2 separate regions of the Homo sapiens genome follow, and region 1 is linked to region 2. Evidence: promoter capture Hi-C in human tissues and cell types (Jung and others, 2019). All regions are on one chromosome and are shown on one strand. Each heading gives the region's core, a stretch centred on a gene start or on the middle of the fragment in contact. The rest is flanking DNA. Distances are from core to core; before and after follow the strand shown.

Evidence for each region. Contacts are between HindIII fragments. The study calls those that stand out against the background at their distance.
Region 1: the fragment with the promoter of MAEA here is called in contact with the fragment with the promoter of PCGF3 in region 2 in 1 of the 25 tissues and cell types used here (lymphoblastoid cells).

What each region holds. Positions count from the first base shown.
Region 1 is chr4:1,286,096-1,292,832 of GRCh38, reverse strand. MAEA (macrophage erythroblast attacher, E3 ubiquitin ligase) reads right to left here and starts at 2,942. Exons shown (of 9, transcript NM_001017405.3): 1 at 2,851-2,942. The coding sequence starts at 2,919. LOC105374347 (a long non-coding RNA gene) reads left to right here and starts at 3,262. Exons shown (of 3, transcript XR_925046.3): 1 at 3,262-3,948; 2 at 5,625-5,707; 3 at 6,385-6,469. It overlaps LOC105374346 (a long non-coding RNA gene), which reads right to left and starts at 5,230. Exons shown (of 2, transcript XR_925043.3): 1 at 5,110-5,230; 2 at 4,539-4,807. RefSeq lists silencers at 1,361-1,543, 2,632-2,911, 3,012-3,421. The HindIII fragment of the contact is 22,633 bases long and covers 1-6,737 here.
Region 2 is chr4:701,985-708,707 of GRCh38, reverse strand. It overlaps PCGF3 (polycomb group ring finger 3), which reads right to left and starts at 2,876. Exons shown (of 11, transcript NM_006315.7): 1 at 2,738-2,876. RefSeq lists enhancers at 1,118-2,102, 2,103-3,088, 4,129-4,856 and a silencer at 2,454-3,153. The HindIII fragment of the contact is 34,476 bases long and covers 1-6,723 here.

The sequences.
Region 1 (6,737 bases), core at 1,693-4,192, 580 kb before region 2:
CACCGGACGGCGTTCACAGCATTTGACAGCAAAAAGACACAGCCACAGCCAGGACGCAAGGCTGAGTCCTCATGAGCCACACCTCCGTTTGGTAAGAGGAAGAAACAAGTCCCTTAAAGCAGGATCCAGCCCAGCAATTCTCAGGGGTGTGTGCATGCCCCCAGGGCACATCTAGCAATGTCTGAAGACATTTTGGGGGCATGCTCTTGGCATCTGGCAGGCAGACACCAGGGATGCTGCTAGACATCCTAGACTGCACAGCCCCCACCACCGACAAAGGCTCCTCCAGCCCAAACGTTCGCAGGCCGGTCCACCCCTTTGGTGGAAATAGAAGCTCATGACGACAGAGGTGCCCAAGGTCAGTGCGTGTTGGCTGCAGCAATTCACGTCTGTTCCATTCTCTTCCCACTTCACCAGGAAAATAGAAAAATAAGTACCTGCCAGGCACCCAGGAGCCCCACCAGCCGCCCTGACGCTGTGAGGAAGCAGACATCCCAAGTGTTACTGCTGAAACCCACCTAGGGCTACCAAGCCCTCTGAAGAGAAAGGAATCCCCTGTGAGTCTGTGGAGGACTCACATGGCAGGAAAGCAGTTTAACTATTACCAGGTGAAGATCCAGTCCAGAGCATGCCAGCTGCTACCACCCTGCAGGAGGACTTGCTCTCAGACTAGAGAAGCAGAACATCCACCCCCCACCTTCCACAACCCCGGTCCTGCAGCCCTCGGTCCCTTCTCTGACATCTGCACTGGCCCCTCCTGGAAACTGAAGAGTGCAGCTCTTGAGCTGTGAGCTCAGCATGTTCTGTTTAGTTCTATACCAATAAATGCTTCTAAATCAAGGATCCCTAGTTTCCCAGCAAAACACCTCCATTATCCACTAGGAATCACTCCTGAAAACTTCTATGAAAAAAAGTTTTAACTCAGTAGTGACACAAGTGTCAACAGAGAAATTATGACACTATAATATTTCTTTACCTGTATGACTATCTGCATGACTATTTTAATCAGAAGCTATGCAATCACTCTGGAATACAAATTACATTCACGATTACAAAACAGCAGAAGACCTGAAGAAGAATCCTTTCCGGAGACCTTCCATCTCCCTTCCTAGTTCCTTCAATACACAATGAAAGGATTTCTGGAAACTTTTCCTATCTAGTGTTTCCCACATTCACCAGCCAGTACCAGAAGTGACAAACCACCACGGTTCTGATCTTCAAACCTTCTTGTGTGTTAGCTGAAATGACAGGCCTGGAGGTGCACTGCGTGAGACAAAGTGGTCAGTGGTTAGGACTCCCTACTAATATCACCACAATGTCCTTGTATAGACTTCTCTCAGCTGCAGGGTCTCCATCTCTAAACCAACAGAGATCCACCAATGTCACTGAGTATTAAAAACCAACCACCTACATCTTGGAGGGATCTAGCAAGAGGCTAGACCTTTGGTAACGTCAGCAACATTGCCCTCCCTTCCTTGATCAAAAGAAGTGCTGGACACACAAGCACCATGAAACCCCACTGCGAAACCATTAGTGTGGCGGGCGCGTGGCTCACACCTGTCAGCCCAGCGCTTTGGGAGGTCAAAAGGCAGGAGGATCGCTTAAGTCCTGGAATCCAAAACCACCCTAGGCAACAGTGAAACCCCGTTTCTTTTTAAAAATATGAAATAAACCGCTAGTTAATAAAGAGGAGGAGAAGCTTGCTTCTGCTTTCCTATGAAGACCAGCTACAGCAGGGTACAGCCTGACTTCAGCAGCGCTAACTGTAGCAGGGACCTTTTAATGAATGCTAGGCACTGTTTGAAACAATACGTGGTCACTCATTTCACCCTGAGGTGACACAGGCGCTACCACTGCTTAAACCTGACAAGAATAAACAGTCACCAACCGGGCCCTGATGTCTCCCAGTAAGGACGAATACAGAGAAGCCTGATTCACACCCCAGCAGGATGGCTCACAGCCTGTGCTCTTCAGCCCTTCGCTGAACTGCCCTGGGGCTGGGGGAACGCACAGCAACCTGGCCATACTGCATCCTCCACACCTGTCGCCACACCGTCCGTCCTCAGACGGACGTGAACACCAGGGCGCTCTGGGAGGAGAGAGAAACTACGCAGCTCTCCAGGAAGGCAACACAGAACCACGAAGCTCAGCCGCAGCTCTAGGAAAGCTATGACCTTGATCTTTTAAGGAATTCCTTCCCAGGTGCTTCATATCAAATCCTCTACTAACTAGGTAAAGAACAAGTATCGGCTCCTTCTACTAGGAGCACAAATTTCATTCTAAGAAGTGCGACGTGGCTAGGTGACCACCCAAGGTCACGCAACCGGCAGCCGGACGGCAAGAGCTGTATTTCAGGTTTGGTGACGCCCATCAAAAAGGTCGCTGGGTGCCATCAGGCCGTGAGGTTTCTCCCTACAGTTCCTAACTAGCGACCGGCGCAGCCGGCACCTCCCAGCCCTGGGCTCCCGGGAGGGCGGCCGGGCACTGGCTGGGCACGCCGCGCACTCCGTCTGCCTGGGCGCCAGAGACCCCACGCCCCGCAAACTCCGGCTTCCACCCCAGCCCCAAATTCGCCACCCTTAGCGCTGCCAGAGTCGTCGCTGGCTCGGCTCACGCAGCTCTTCAAGCAGAGGGGCCACAGTCGGGCGCCTGGCAGGGCCAAAGCCGCCGCCCCCGCCACACCTGCCCGGCGCGGACCGGGCGCCCCTGAGAAGCCCGCACGGCCCCGCGAGGCCGCGCCCAGCTCCCGCCGCCCTCGCCGCTGGCCCTCCCGGGGCGGCCCCTCGCGGCCCGAGGGCACTGGCTGGAGACGCCTTCGCTGCCCTCAGCCTGCGCGGCGCAGGCGCCCACCTTGAGGGTCGGGTACTCCTGGACCTTCAGGGTCATGGACAACTGAGCCGCCGACTCCTGCACCGCCATCTTGAAGCGGCCAAAACATTAGCGGGCGGGGGACGCGCGAGCGCGCTGCACGCCGGGAAATGACGCCACGCGCCGGCCGGAGCAGGATGGGGGCGGGCCGATGCCCCTGCACCAATCGTATCCGCCCAGTCGGCCGGAGGCGGAAGAAGGCGCGAACCAATCACTGCCGGGTTTCCTCTCGTTCAGCCAATCAACGATAGCCCCGGCTGGCGGTTTCCACCTTGAATTCGCTACCGGGTTCAGGCCGCAGACGCCGGAGCTGGGGATGCTCCTGGCCCGGGGCGGGCCGATGGGGTGCGGGCTGCGGCCCGGGCGGGTGGAGCTGGGGCCGAGCGGGCTGGGGGACTTGGCGTCCGTCCAGTTACTTGGGGCTCCCGCGGGGTGGTCCCCTGTGGGTCCCTCGTGCCTGCGGTACCAAGGGCAACGCCAACAAAACGCCTGGCCGCATGCGCCTGTAGCCAGCTATTTTTCTTTGGCCTTATTTTGACCGATTTACAGCTGCTGGAATCCTGATGTGGAACCTCCGACTTCCCAACGGAAGAGGAAAGGCCCAGTACCTAAAACTGATTTATGGACAGAAACTCCCGAAGCATGAGAAGCGTGTGGCCTCTCCGCCCTCTCCTTGCAGGGCGGGCAGCGCTGGCATCCAGGTCGTGCGCTGCCTTCATTTCAGCCACTTCACATTCTCAGCCTTTCAAACACCACCCGTCTCCCTCCTTTCCAAAATAAAACTGAAATTAGATTTTATTAATTAGGAAATGACGTCCCAATTAAACCACCTTGTGTTTCACATAACACATTTCTAAACAACTTTTAAAATATTTGGTGTTTAAACAAAGGAAAAACATCTAAGGTGACACAGCGATGAAGGGAGAACCTCCGCTTGGAGGCTGCTACATGTTACAGCCGCAAGACATCCGACCCGCACTGTGGAATCTTTCTCTGTCTTACTTAAACAGGAGTTGGGACTAAGGAAAGTGTTATTCCTCAAGTGTGTGGCTGCAGACTCCAGTCTTTTAGACATTTGAAGTAAGTTTTACAGTGAGGTGCACAAATCTTAACTATACAGCTTTAATGAATTTTCACCCATATTTGCACTTTTATCTAACCGTGTCCTGGTTGAGATTTAGGACATTTCCCGTGGCACAGAAAGCTCCTCTGCCCCTTCCCGGGCTATATCCCCATCATTCTAACCCTGCTCCCCGTAACAGCGTTCCTGACCTTCCTATAGAGATGGAAGCATGCACTCTGTACTCTTTGCGTCCTTTCACGGTTCGCATCGTGTCTGCCACTCTCCGGGATGGTCCCAGTAGTACACAGGAGCACTGCAGCAGTTGGATGGACTGCACTCCTCTTAGAGACTGCCTTCACTTCACCAGGGATTCAAGATTAACCCAAAGGAAAGGACACGGGTTTCATTTCCATGGTAAAATGATCCTATCCTAGTACCATCTACAGTCAGAAATACTTAGGAATTATAAGGCAGAGGTTTGCACGTTGGAGAGGTTGTTTAACCCTCTACAACCTTTGAGTCATTCATTCTAGGTTTTCTTATGTTGGAAGATAAAACTGTATTTGAATTAGTCCTTTTGTAAACCAAAAAGTGTCTGAGACAGATCTCAATCAGTTTAGAAGTTTATGTTGCCAAGGTTAAGGATCATGACCAGTGACACAGCCTCAAGAGGTCCTCAGAACACATGCCCAAGGTGGTTGGGTTACAGCTTGATTTTATACGTTTTAAGGAGATGTAGGCATCAATCAGTACATGTGAGATTTACATTGGTCCGAAAAGGCAGGACAACACAAAGCACAGCGGGGCTTCCAGCTCACAGGTGGATTCAAAGATTTTCTGATTGGCATTTGGTTGAAAGAGTGCTTATCTAAAGATCTGGAATCGAGAGAAAGGAGCATCTGGGTTAAAAGGGGTTGTGGAGACCAACGTTCTTATTACATAGATGAAGCCTCATAGGTGGCCACCATTAGAAGCAATAGATGGCAAATGTTTCATATCTAGATCTTAAAAAGCTGCTAGACTTGGCCGGGTGCTGTGGCTCACGCCTGTAATCCCAGCACTTTGGGAGGCCGAGGCGGGCGGATCACGAGGTCAGAGATCAAGACTATCCTGGCCAACATGGTAAAACCCTGTCTCTACTAAAAATACAAAAATTAGCTGGATGTGGTGGCACTCACCTGTAGTCCCAGGTACTTGGGAGGCTGAGGCAGGAGAATCACTTGAACCTGGGAGGCAGAGGTTGCAGTAAGCCAAGATCACACCACTGCACTCCAGCCTGGGTGACACAGCGAGACTCCTAAAAAAAAAAAAAAAAAAAAAAAAAAACAAGAGCTGCTAGACTCTCAGTTAACCATTAACTTCTTCAGAATCAGAAAAGACCCGGAAAGGAAGGGCAAGGGATTCCCTACAGAATGTAAATTTCTCCCACAAGAGACAGCTTTGCAGGGCCCTTTCAAAATATGTCAAAGAAATATATTTTGGGGTAAAACACTTTGATTTCCTTCAAGGCCAGCTATCTGTCATGTGATGCTCTACTAGAGTCAAGTTGGAATTTGGCATCTTATTGCTACAGAGTCTGTTTTGTCAGTCTTAAGATCTCTGTTTTAATGTTAATGCTGGTAAGTTTTGTGCCTGAACTCGAAAGGGAGGAGGGGATACTGAGGCATGTCCAACTCTCCCTTCACGTTAATAGTGGCAGGAGGCAGACCGAGCAGTTACCCAGTGAAACCCGACCTTCAAGCCGAAGACAGTTTAAAGCCGACCTACAAGTCCCAGGTAAATCCATGGACTAGATTGGGAACCTGTCTTCCTGCCTGGCATGCTTTCCTCTGATTGGTCCCCACCCTTCACCTATTTTACATATACCTATCCTTCCCTAATTGGCTTTTTGTTTGTTGGTTGGTTGTTTTTTTGGTTTTTTTTTTTTTTGAGATGGAGTCTCGCTCTGTCTCCCAGGCTGGAGTGCAGTGGCACGATCTCGGCTTACTGCAAGCTCTGCCTCCCAGGTTCACGCCATTCTCCTGCCTCAGCCTCCCGAGTAGCTGGGACTACAGGCACCCGCCACCACGCCCAGCTAATTTTTTTTGTATTTTTAGTAGAGATGGGGTTTCACCGTGTTAGCCAGGATGGTGTCAATCTCCTGACCTTGTGATCCACCCACCTCAGCCTCCCAAAGTGCTAGGATTACAGGCGTGAGCCACCGCACCCAGCCCCTAATTGCTTTTTACACTGTTGTCCCCACCTTTGAGTGATGCCTTTGTTTTAGCCATTTTTGCATCCTCACAAACCAATCAGTGTGCACTCTGAGCCCATGAAAGCCCCAAACCCAGCCACATGGAGAGAGAAACCATCCGACTTCAGGTGGGGGACCACCCTCACATCCCTGCTCCACTGAGAGCTGCTTTGTCACTCAATAAAATTCTTCTCCATCCTCCTCACCCTTCAATTGTCAGTGTATCATCATTCTTCTTGGACGTGGGACAAGAGCTCAGGATGCACCAAATGTGAATACAGAGAAGGCTGTAACTCCATAACCCTTTGCCCTTCACCAGCAGAGGGCAGCCACCCCATGTGACAGAAGCAGCAGTGGGACTGAGCCAGCCCTGGAGCCATGGGCTGATGCGGGGCAAGCGGCTGACAGAGCTGTTGACGCACCACTGTCCATCAGGATGCAGACTAAAAGAGCTAATTAGCATGCTGTAACACCCCCTCTGGGGCTTCAGGATCACAGCACCCCTACCTGGGCGCCACCGTGTTCCCCTTGTCTGGACGCCGGAGTCCACCATGGGAGTGGCTTGCAACATGC
Region 2 (6,723 bases), core at 1,627-4,126:
GAGGGGCAGGAGGGGTTGAAGGTGCTGGACACGGACCACAGCCAAGGCAAGGACAGGACAGCAGCCCCGGACGAGGGGCTGAGTGGGAGGGTGCAGTGCCAGCCTGAGGTGTGGAGCCTGTGGGCTGGGAGCTCCTGGAACCCTGAGGCCCCTGCCTCATACCTACCCCAGGTATCACCTAGGCGGTTCATGTGCAGGGGCTGTGGGGCTGGCCCAGGGTCTCATGGAAAGGGCCTCGGGTACCAGGATGCCAGATGCCTGGCCTTCACAGCAGGTGCATCCAGCTGAGTGGACTGGGCAGATTCAGGACACTGCTGGATTCCCCCCCGAGGGTCCCAGTACTCCTTACAGTCCAGTCTTGGGGCCTACATGCTCCTCAGTGACTTGTTCAGGAGTCCCAGCCCTCTGAGGACCTGTCTGGAAGTTCCAGCTCTCATCAGGTCCTCTTTGAGAGCCTAGCCTTCTTCCCAGTCCACACCAGTGTCCCGACCCTAAGTGACCCCGTTTGAGGTCCTGGTCATCTAGAAGCCTGTCCATGTCATGAGCCCTTCTCACTGTCCAGTCTCAGGGTGCCGGGCCCTGGGAGAAAACAGGGCTGTCTCAGGGTCCCGGCCCCCAGGTGAAAACAGGGCTGTCCCAGGGTCCCGGCCCCCAGGTGAAAACAGGGCTGTCCCAGGGTCCCGGCCCCCAGGGGAAAACAGGGCTGTCCCAGGGTCCCGACCCCCAGGGGAAAACAGGGCTGTCCCAGGGTCCCGGCCCCCAGGGGAAAACAGGGCTGTCCCAGGGTCCCGACCCCCAGGGGAAAACAGGGCTGTCTCAGGGTCCCGACCCCCAGGTGAAAACAGGGCTGTCCCAGGGTCCCGACCCCCAGGGGAAAACAGGGCTGTCCCAGGGTCCCGGCCCCCAGGGGAAAACAGAGCTGTCCCAGGGTCCCGGCCCCCAGGTGAAAACAGAGCTGTCTCAGGGTCCCGGCCCCCAGGTGAAAACAGAGCTGTCTCAGGGTCCCGGCCCCCAGGGGAAAACAGAGCTGTCCCAGGGTCCCGACCCCCAGGGGAAAACAGGGCTGTCCCAGGGTCCCGACCCCCAGGGGAAAACAGAGCTGTCCCAGAGTCCCGACCCCCAGGGGAAAACAGAGCTGTCCCAGGGTCCCGACCCCCAGGGGAAAACAGGGCTGTCCCAGGGTCCCGGCCCCCGGGTGAAAACAGGCTGTCCCAGGGTCCCGGCCCCCAGGGGAAAACAGGGCTGTCTCAGGGTCCCGGGGGAGACGGGGCAGTCTCAGGGTCCCAGCAGTGCTCACAGGACTCACAAGACTGCTCCAGGGTCAGGTCCTCCTGAATTATGGTCATGGGGTCCTGGCCCTCGTCTGTGACCCACTTTAAGGCAGGACCTTCCTGGGGGATCTATTCTGGGGTCCTGGCATTCTTTGGATTCTGCCTGGTCCCTACGTCTGGCCCTCCTCCGTGATTCTTCCCAGGGTCCTAGCCCCCCCGGGCCCTGCCAGGTGGCCAGGTCCGACCCTCCTTGGTGACCCATCTTGGGGTCCCAGCCCTTCTCGGTGACCTGTCCCAGGGTCAGACCCTCCTGGATGATGTGTCATTGTGTCCTAGCACTCTGGGGGTCCTGTGCAATCCCAGAGCCCAACTCTCTTCAGGTCCTGCCTGGTCTGAAGACCCAGCCCTCCCGGGGTCCTGCCTGGGCTGGGGTCGCGACCTTCCCAGGGTCCTGCCTGGGCTGGGGTCCCTACCCTCCCGCGGTCCTGCCTGGGCTGGGGTCTTTGCCCTCACCTGGGTCCTGCCTGGTCTGGGGTCTTCGCCCTCCCTGGGTCCTGCCTGGGCTGGGGTCGCGACCTTCCCAGGGTCCTGCCTGGTCTGGGGTCCCTGCCCTCCCGCGGTCCTGCCTGGGCTGGGGTCTTCGCCCTCACCTGGGTCCTGCCTGGTCTGGGGTCTTCGCCCTCCCTGGGTCCTGCCTGGGCTGGGGTCGCGACCTTCCCAGGGTCCTGCCTGGTCTGGGGTCCCTGCCCTCCCGCGGTCCTGCCTGGGCTGGGGTCTTCGCCCTCCCTGGGTCCTGCCTGGTCTGGGGTCTTGGCCCTCCCGGGGTCCTGCCTGGTCTGGGGTCCCTGCCCTCCCGCGGTCCTGCCTGGGCTGGGGTCTTCGCCCTCCCTGGGTCCTGCCTGGTCTGGGGTCTTGGCCCTCCCGGGGTCCTGCCTGGTCTGGGGTCTTGGCCCTCCCTGTTCTGGGGTCTTTGCCCTCCCTGGGTCCTGCCTGGGCTGGGGTCTTCGACCTCCCGGAGTCCTGCCTGGGCTGGGGTCTTGCCCTCCCTGCGTCCTGCCTGGACTGGGGTCTTGCCCTCCCTGCGTCCTGCCTGGGCTGCTGTCCCAGCCCTCCCTGGGTCCTGCCTGGGCTGGGGTCTTCGACCTCCCGGAGTCCTGCCTGGGCTGGGGTCTTGCCCTCCCTGCGTCCTGCCTAGGCTGGAGTCCCAGCCCTCCCGGGGTCCTGCCTGGGCTGGGCTCTTGGCCCTCCCGGAGTCCTGCCTGGGCTGGGGTCTTCGACCTCCCGGAGTCCTGACTGGGCTGGGGTGCCGGCCCTCCCGGGCCTGCCAAGGGCTTCCCGGGCCAGGCCGACGGGGACGACGGAGCGCGGGCCCGGGGTTCGGAGCCTTCCGGGCCGGACACGGGCCGAGGCCGCAGCCTGAGGAGCGGGCGCCGAGGGCCCAGGCCAGGCGGGGCGGACTCACTGACCTGCGGTCTCGGGGCTGCGGGCGAGCAAGGCGCACGCGGGGTCCGCGCCGGAGGGGGGAGGGGGCGCCGCTCCCTCTGGGTCCCCCCCAAGAGGAGGAGAAAAAAGCCCGTCCGGAGTTTAAAACAAAGAGGCGGAAATGCCCGAGCCGAGCCGAGCGCCGCGTCGGGGGCGCCGCGCTCGGAGCATGCGCGGTGTGCGTCTGGGCTCCCACCCCGCGGCAAGGGGCGTGGGCGGGGCCAGGCGGTAAGGGGTGGGGATAGGGGCGGGGAGGGGCGTGTTCAGAGGGCGCAGGCGCGTCGGGCCTGGACTCGGCGGAGGGAGCCGCGGGGCGCGAGGGCCAGGGGCGAGGCATAGGGCGGGGCCATGAGGGGCGTGGTCAGGAGAGCGACAGGGCCGCGCTGTGCTGAGGGACCCGACGGGTCCTGGACGATCGTGAGCTGGGGCGCTGGAGCAGCAGAGTCCTCAGGCCCGGGTCCCTCCGGGGGTGCCGTCCAGTACGGGTGCTGCTGTCCTTTGTGGGAGCCGGGACTGAGCGCCCTCCCGGCAGGGTTAAGGGTCGGTGTTAGGGTCAGGGGTCGGGTTAGGGGTCAGAGTCAGGGTTAGGGTTGGGTTTAGGTTTAGGGTCAGGGTTAGGGGTTAGAGTCAGGGTTAGGACTGGGTTTAGGGCTAGGGTCAGCATTAGGGGTTAGGGTTAGGGTTGGGTTTATGGTTAGGGTCAGGATTAGGGGTGGGGTCAGGGTCAGGGGTTAGGGTCTGGTCTAGGGTTAGGGTTGGGTTTAGGGTTAGGGTCAGGGTTAGGGTTAGGGTTGGGTTTTAGGGTTAGGGTCAGGGTTAGGGTTAGAGTCAGGGTTAGGACTGGATTTAGGGTTAGGGTCAGCATTAGGGGTTAGGGTTAGGGTTGGTTTTACGGTTAGGGTCAGGATTAGGGGTAGGGTCAGAGTTAGGGGTTAGGTTTAGGGTTAGGGTTGGGTTTAGGGTTAGGGTCAGGATTAGGGGTGGGGTCAGGGTCAGGGGTTCGGGTCTGGTCATGTTTAGGCTTGTATTTAGGTTATGTTCAGCATCAGGACGGACAGGGCACCCACGTGCGGACTCTCCGACCTGGGTGCCCTCCGCCAGGGTGGAGCAGTACGGGCGGCATTTGCGCCTTCGTGGGACTGGCACTGTCCTGAGAGGGCGGGATCCGAGGACCGAGGGCGCGTGCGGGGGTGAGGCGGACGTGCAGGCACGCGGGGTCCTAGGGTCTCCCGGTTTGCGGGTTCTGGGCTGGCGGCCCAGGACGGGAGGGCAGGTTGGGTCTTGGGTGGGAAGCGAGACCACTGTGGTTCCGGGCGGCGGGGCACCGCGCAGTGTGGAGGCTTGGTGGCGAGAGGGGAGGCCCCGTAGGCCCAGGGGCACTCGCTGCGAGGCTGTGCGGTGCAGGCATGGAGCAGGAGTCGGGAGTCATTAGCTCGTCCCGTCTGGAGAGGTGGTGGCTGAGGGAGTGACCCTGCGACTGTCCCCGTGAAGTCTAGAGTTGGACCCCGGGAGCAGCCACCAGGCAGGGGGCCCCGGGCCCAGGTATGGTGCAGCACGTGGGGAAGCGGCTTGAGTCCGCTGCTGAGAGGGGCCTGAGAAGGGCTGGGGGCCTGCTGAGATCTCCAGCACTGGGTGGACACGTTATCCGGGTGGGAGGAGGACAGACAGCAGACATGTGAATGTGTACAGCATTCCCAGGCATGCTGCTGTGAAGGGGAGGGACTAAATGTGGCCACTGCTGCCCCCGGGGGAGGGGAGGCAGGGAGGGCTCCGTGGAGCCATGGGGTGGCCCAGTGCAGGGGAGGGGCCCACTGGAGAGGGCTGCCTGGGATTGGGGTACTGGGGTGCTGGCCCTCCACAAGAGCCCTGACTGCAGTTTTCAGTTGGTGGAGGCAGGCCCCAGATGTGGAGGGGAGGACTGGAGGATCATCCCAGAAGGAGGGCAGGGGCAAGGTATTGGTGCTGGGGTGCAAGGGGCAGGGGGTGGCCAGCAGGCCAGGAACAGTCCTGGGCTGAGTGTGGTGGCCTCAGGAAGAGGCAGAGTGGTAAGCTGCAGTTCAGAACTCACTCCAGGCCCCAGGCCCCTCCTCAAGGAGGTGCAGACCCTACCCCTAGGCTTCCCACTACTCTCCTGGGTGGGTGCCAGCGGTGCCCGGACCTTGACTCTGAGCCCTGGGCTCTTGTGTCCAGCTCTGTTTCTGCTGAATGTCATTAGGAAGCTTAAATGCCACATGGCCGGATGGCTTCCCCAGGCCATCCTGAGTCTGCTGTGTACCCCAGGACCCCCCACCCCCCACCGCCAGTCCTGAGGCAAGACCCCAGAGTCCTCTGCACCCTCTTCCTCTCATGCCCAAACTGGCCATCCATGGCCCATCGGCAGCCAGCCAGGTCTCCCACCTGCACCCTCCTGGGACCTCACTCAGCCAAGGCCCGAGGGTGGAGGCATCGGGGCCAAAGAAGCCTAGGGTGTTGGCAGTGTGTGCTGTCCTGGTGTGAGTTCGGGGTGTGCACATATTACATACAGGCACGTATTCCTTAGCAGAGCTGTAAAGAAGGGAGGCAGGAATCATGGCACAAGCAGACTGGAGTAGAGGGGAGGCCCCTGTCCCCCCCAGAGGGTGCCCCAACCTTCCCCAGGGTGCCGGTCCGCCCTCCCTGCCCACCCAGTCACTAGGGCCTCCTAGGGCCATTGGGTGCCTCTCTGGCAGATCATTCTGGTCACTCACAAACTGGCAGAGGGTCTGCCCATCCTTGAGGATGGAGCAGAACAGAAAGAGCTCGCTGGACCCTGTGCTTCTCTGCTGTCTTCACAGCGTCACTCTTCAGGAACTCTTTCTCCAATTTCCCTCCCCGAGTTCTCTCTTAAGCACATCAGGCATCTGCGCCTACCCCCATGTCTCAACCAAATGCTCCAGGACTTTGTGGGGTAAATCCAACTGCCTTTGTCACCACCCTTTCTGTTGCTGGGGTACAGACATGTGGTCTTGTTCCCAATTGCTCTCTTCTGTTTTCATCAGAAAGTCCTGCCAGCTCTGTCTTGGAAACTTCCCATCATCCAACCATGGCTTTCCAAGGCTGCTCTGGCCCAAACCCGCCCTGTCCTGCTGGAACTGGTGCCACAGCCTTGGGCCCCCCACCCCCAGTCAATCCTCAACAGAGCAGCCAACCAGCGGGTCCCGTCACACCCAAGTGGGAGCGCTCCACCCAGCGCGTGATGATAAGGACGTCCTCTGAGGTCCCTGCTCCCACCTCTGCCTGTTTCCCCAAGCTCACTCCACCCAGAGCTCTCCCTGACACTCACTCACCTTGTTGGCAAGGCTGTCAGGAAACAGGGCTCTCAGACGTGAGTGGTGGGAGCAGAGGAGCGTTTGACAGTATCCAGCAAAGTACACGGGCATTTATCCTTCAGCCCAGTGGCCCCCAAATAGGACTTTATTCCAGAGATAAATGGCAGGAATAAAAAAGATGGATGACCAAGGCTATTAATTGCAGCATAATGTATAACAGAAAAATTGAAAACATGGCCATCCACACGGTTAATCGGATACACTCTTGAACCTCCACACCTTGGATAGTGAATAAAGAAGAGATAAAGATAAAGAAGACTGATAAAGAAGAGACTGATGGTACCACACACTCTTACTTACAGAGTGACCTCCGGTATCCAGGATATGCTGTCCTGCGAGATGAGAAAAGGGCTCACAGTTGCTGCCATTTACCTGGAGCAGGGACCATTGAAGTTCTACCCATTTACCATTGAACATTCTACCCATTTGCCTGCCCTAAAAATGCTTTGTGGAGGCCAGTGTGGCTCACACCTGTAGTCCCAGCACTTTGGGAGGCTGAGGCGGGAGGATTACTTGGGCGCAGGAGTTTGAGACCAGCCTGGAATAACATAGTGAGACCCCATCTCTTTTCTTTTCTTTTCTTTTCTTTTCTTTTCTTTTCTTTTCTTTTCTTTTCTTTTCTT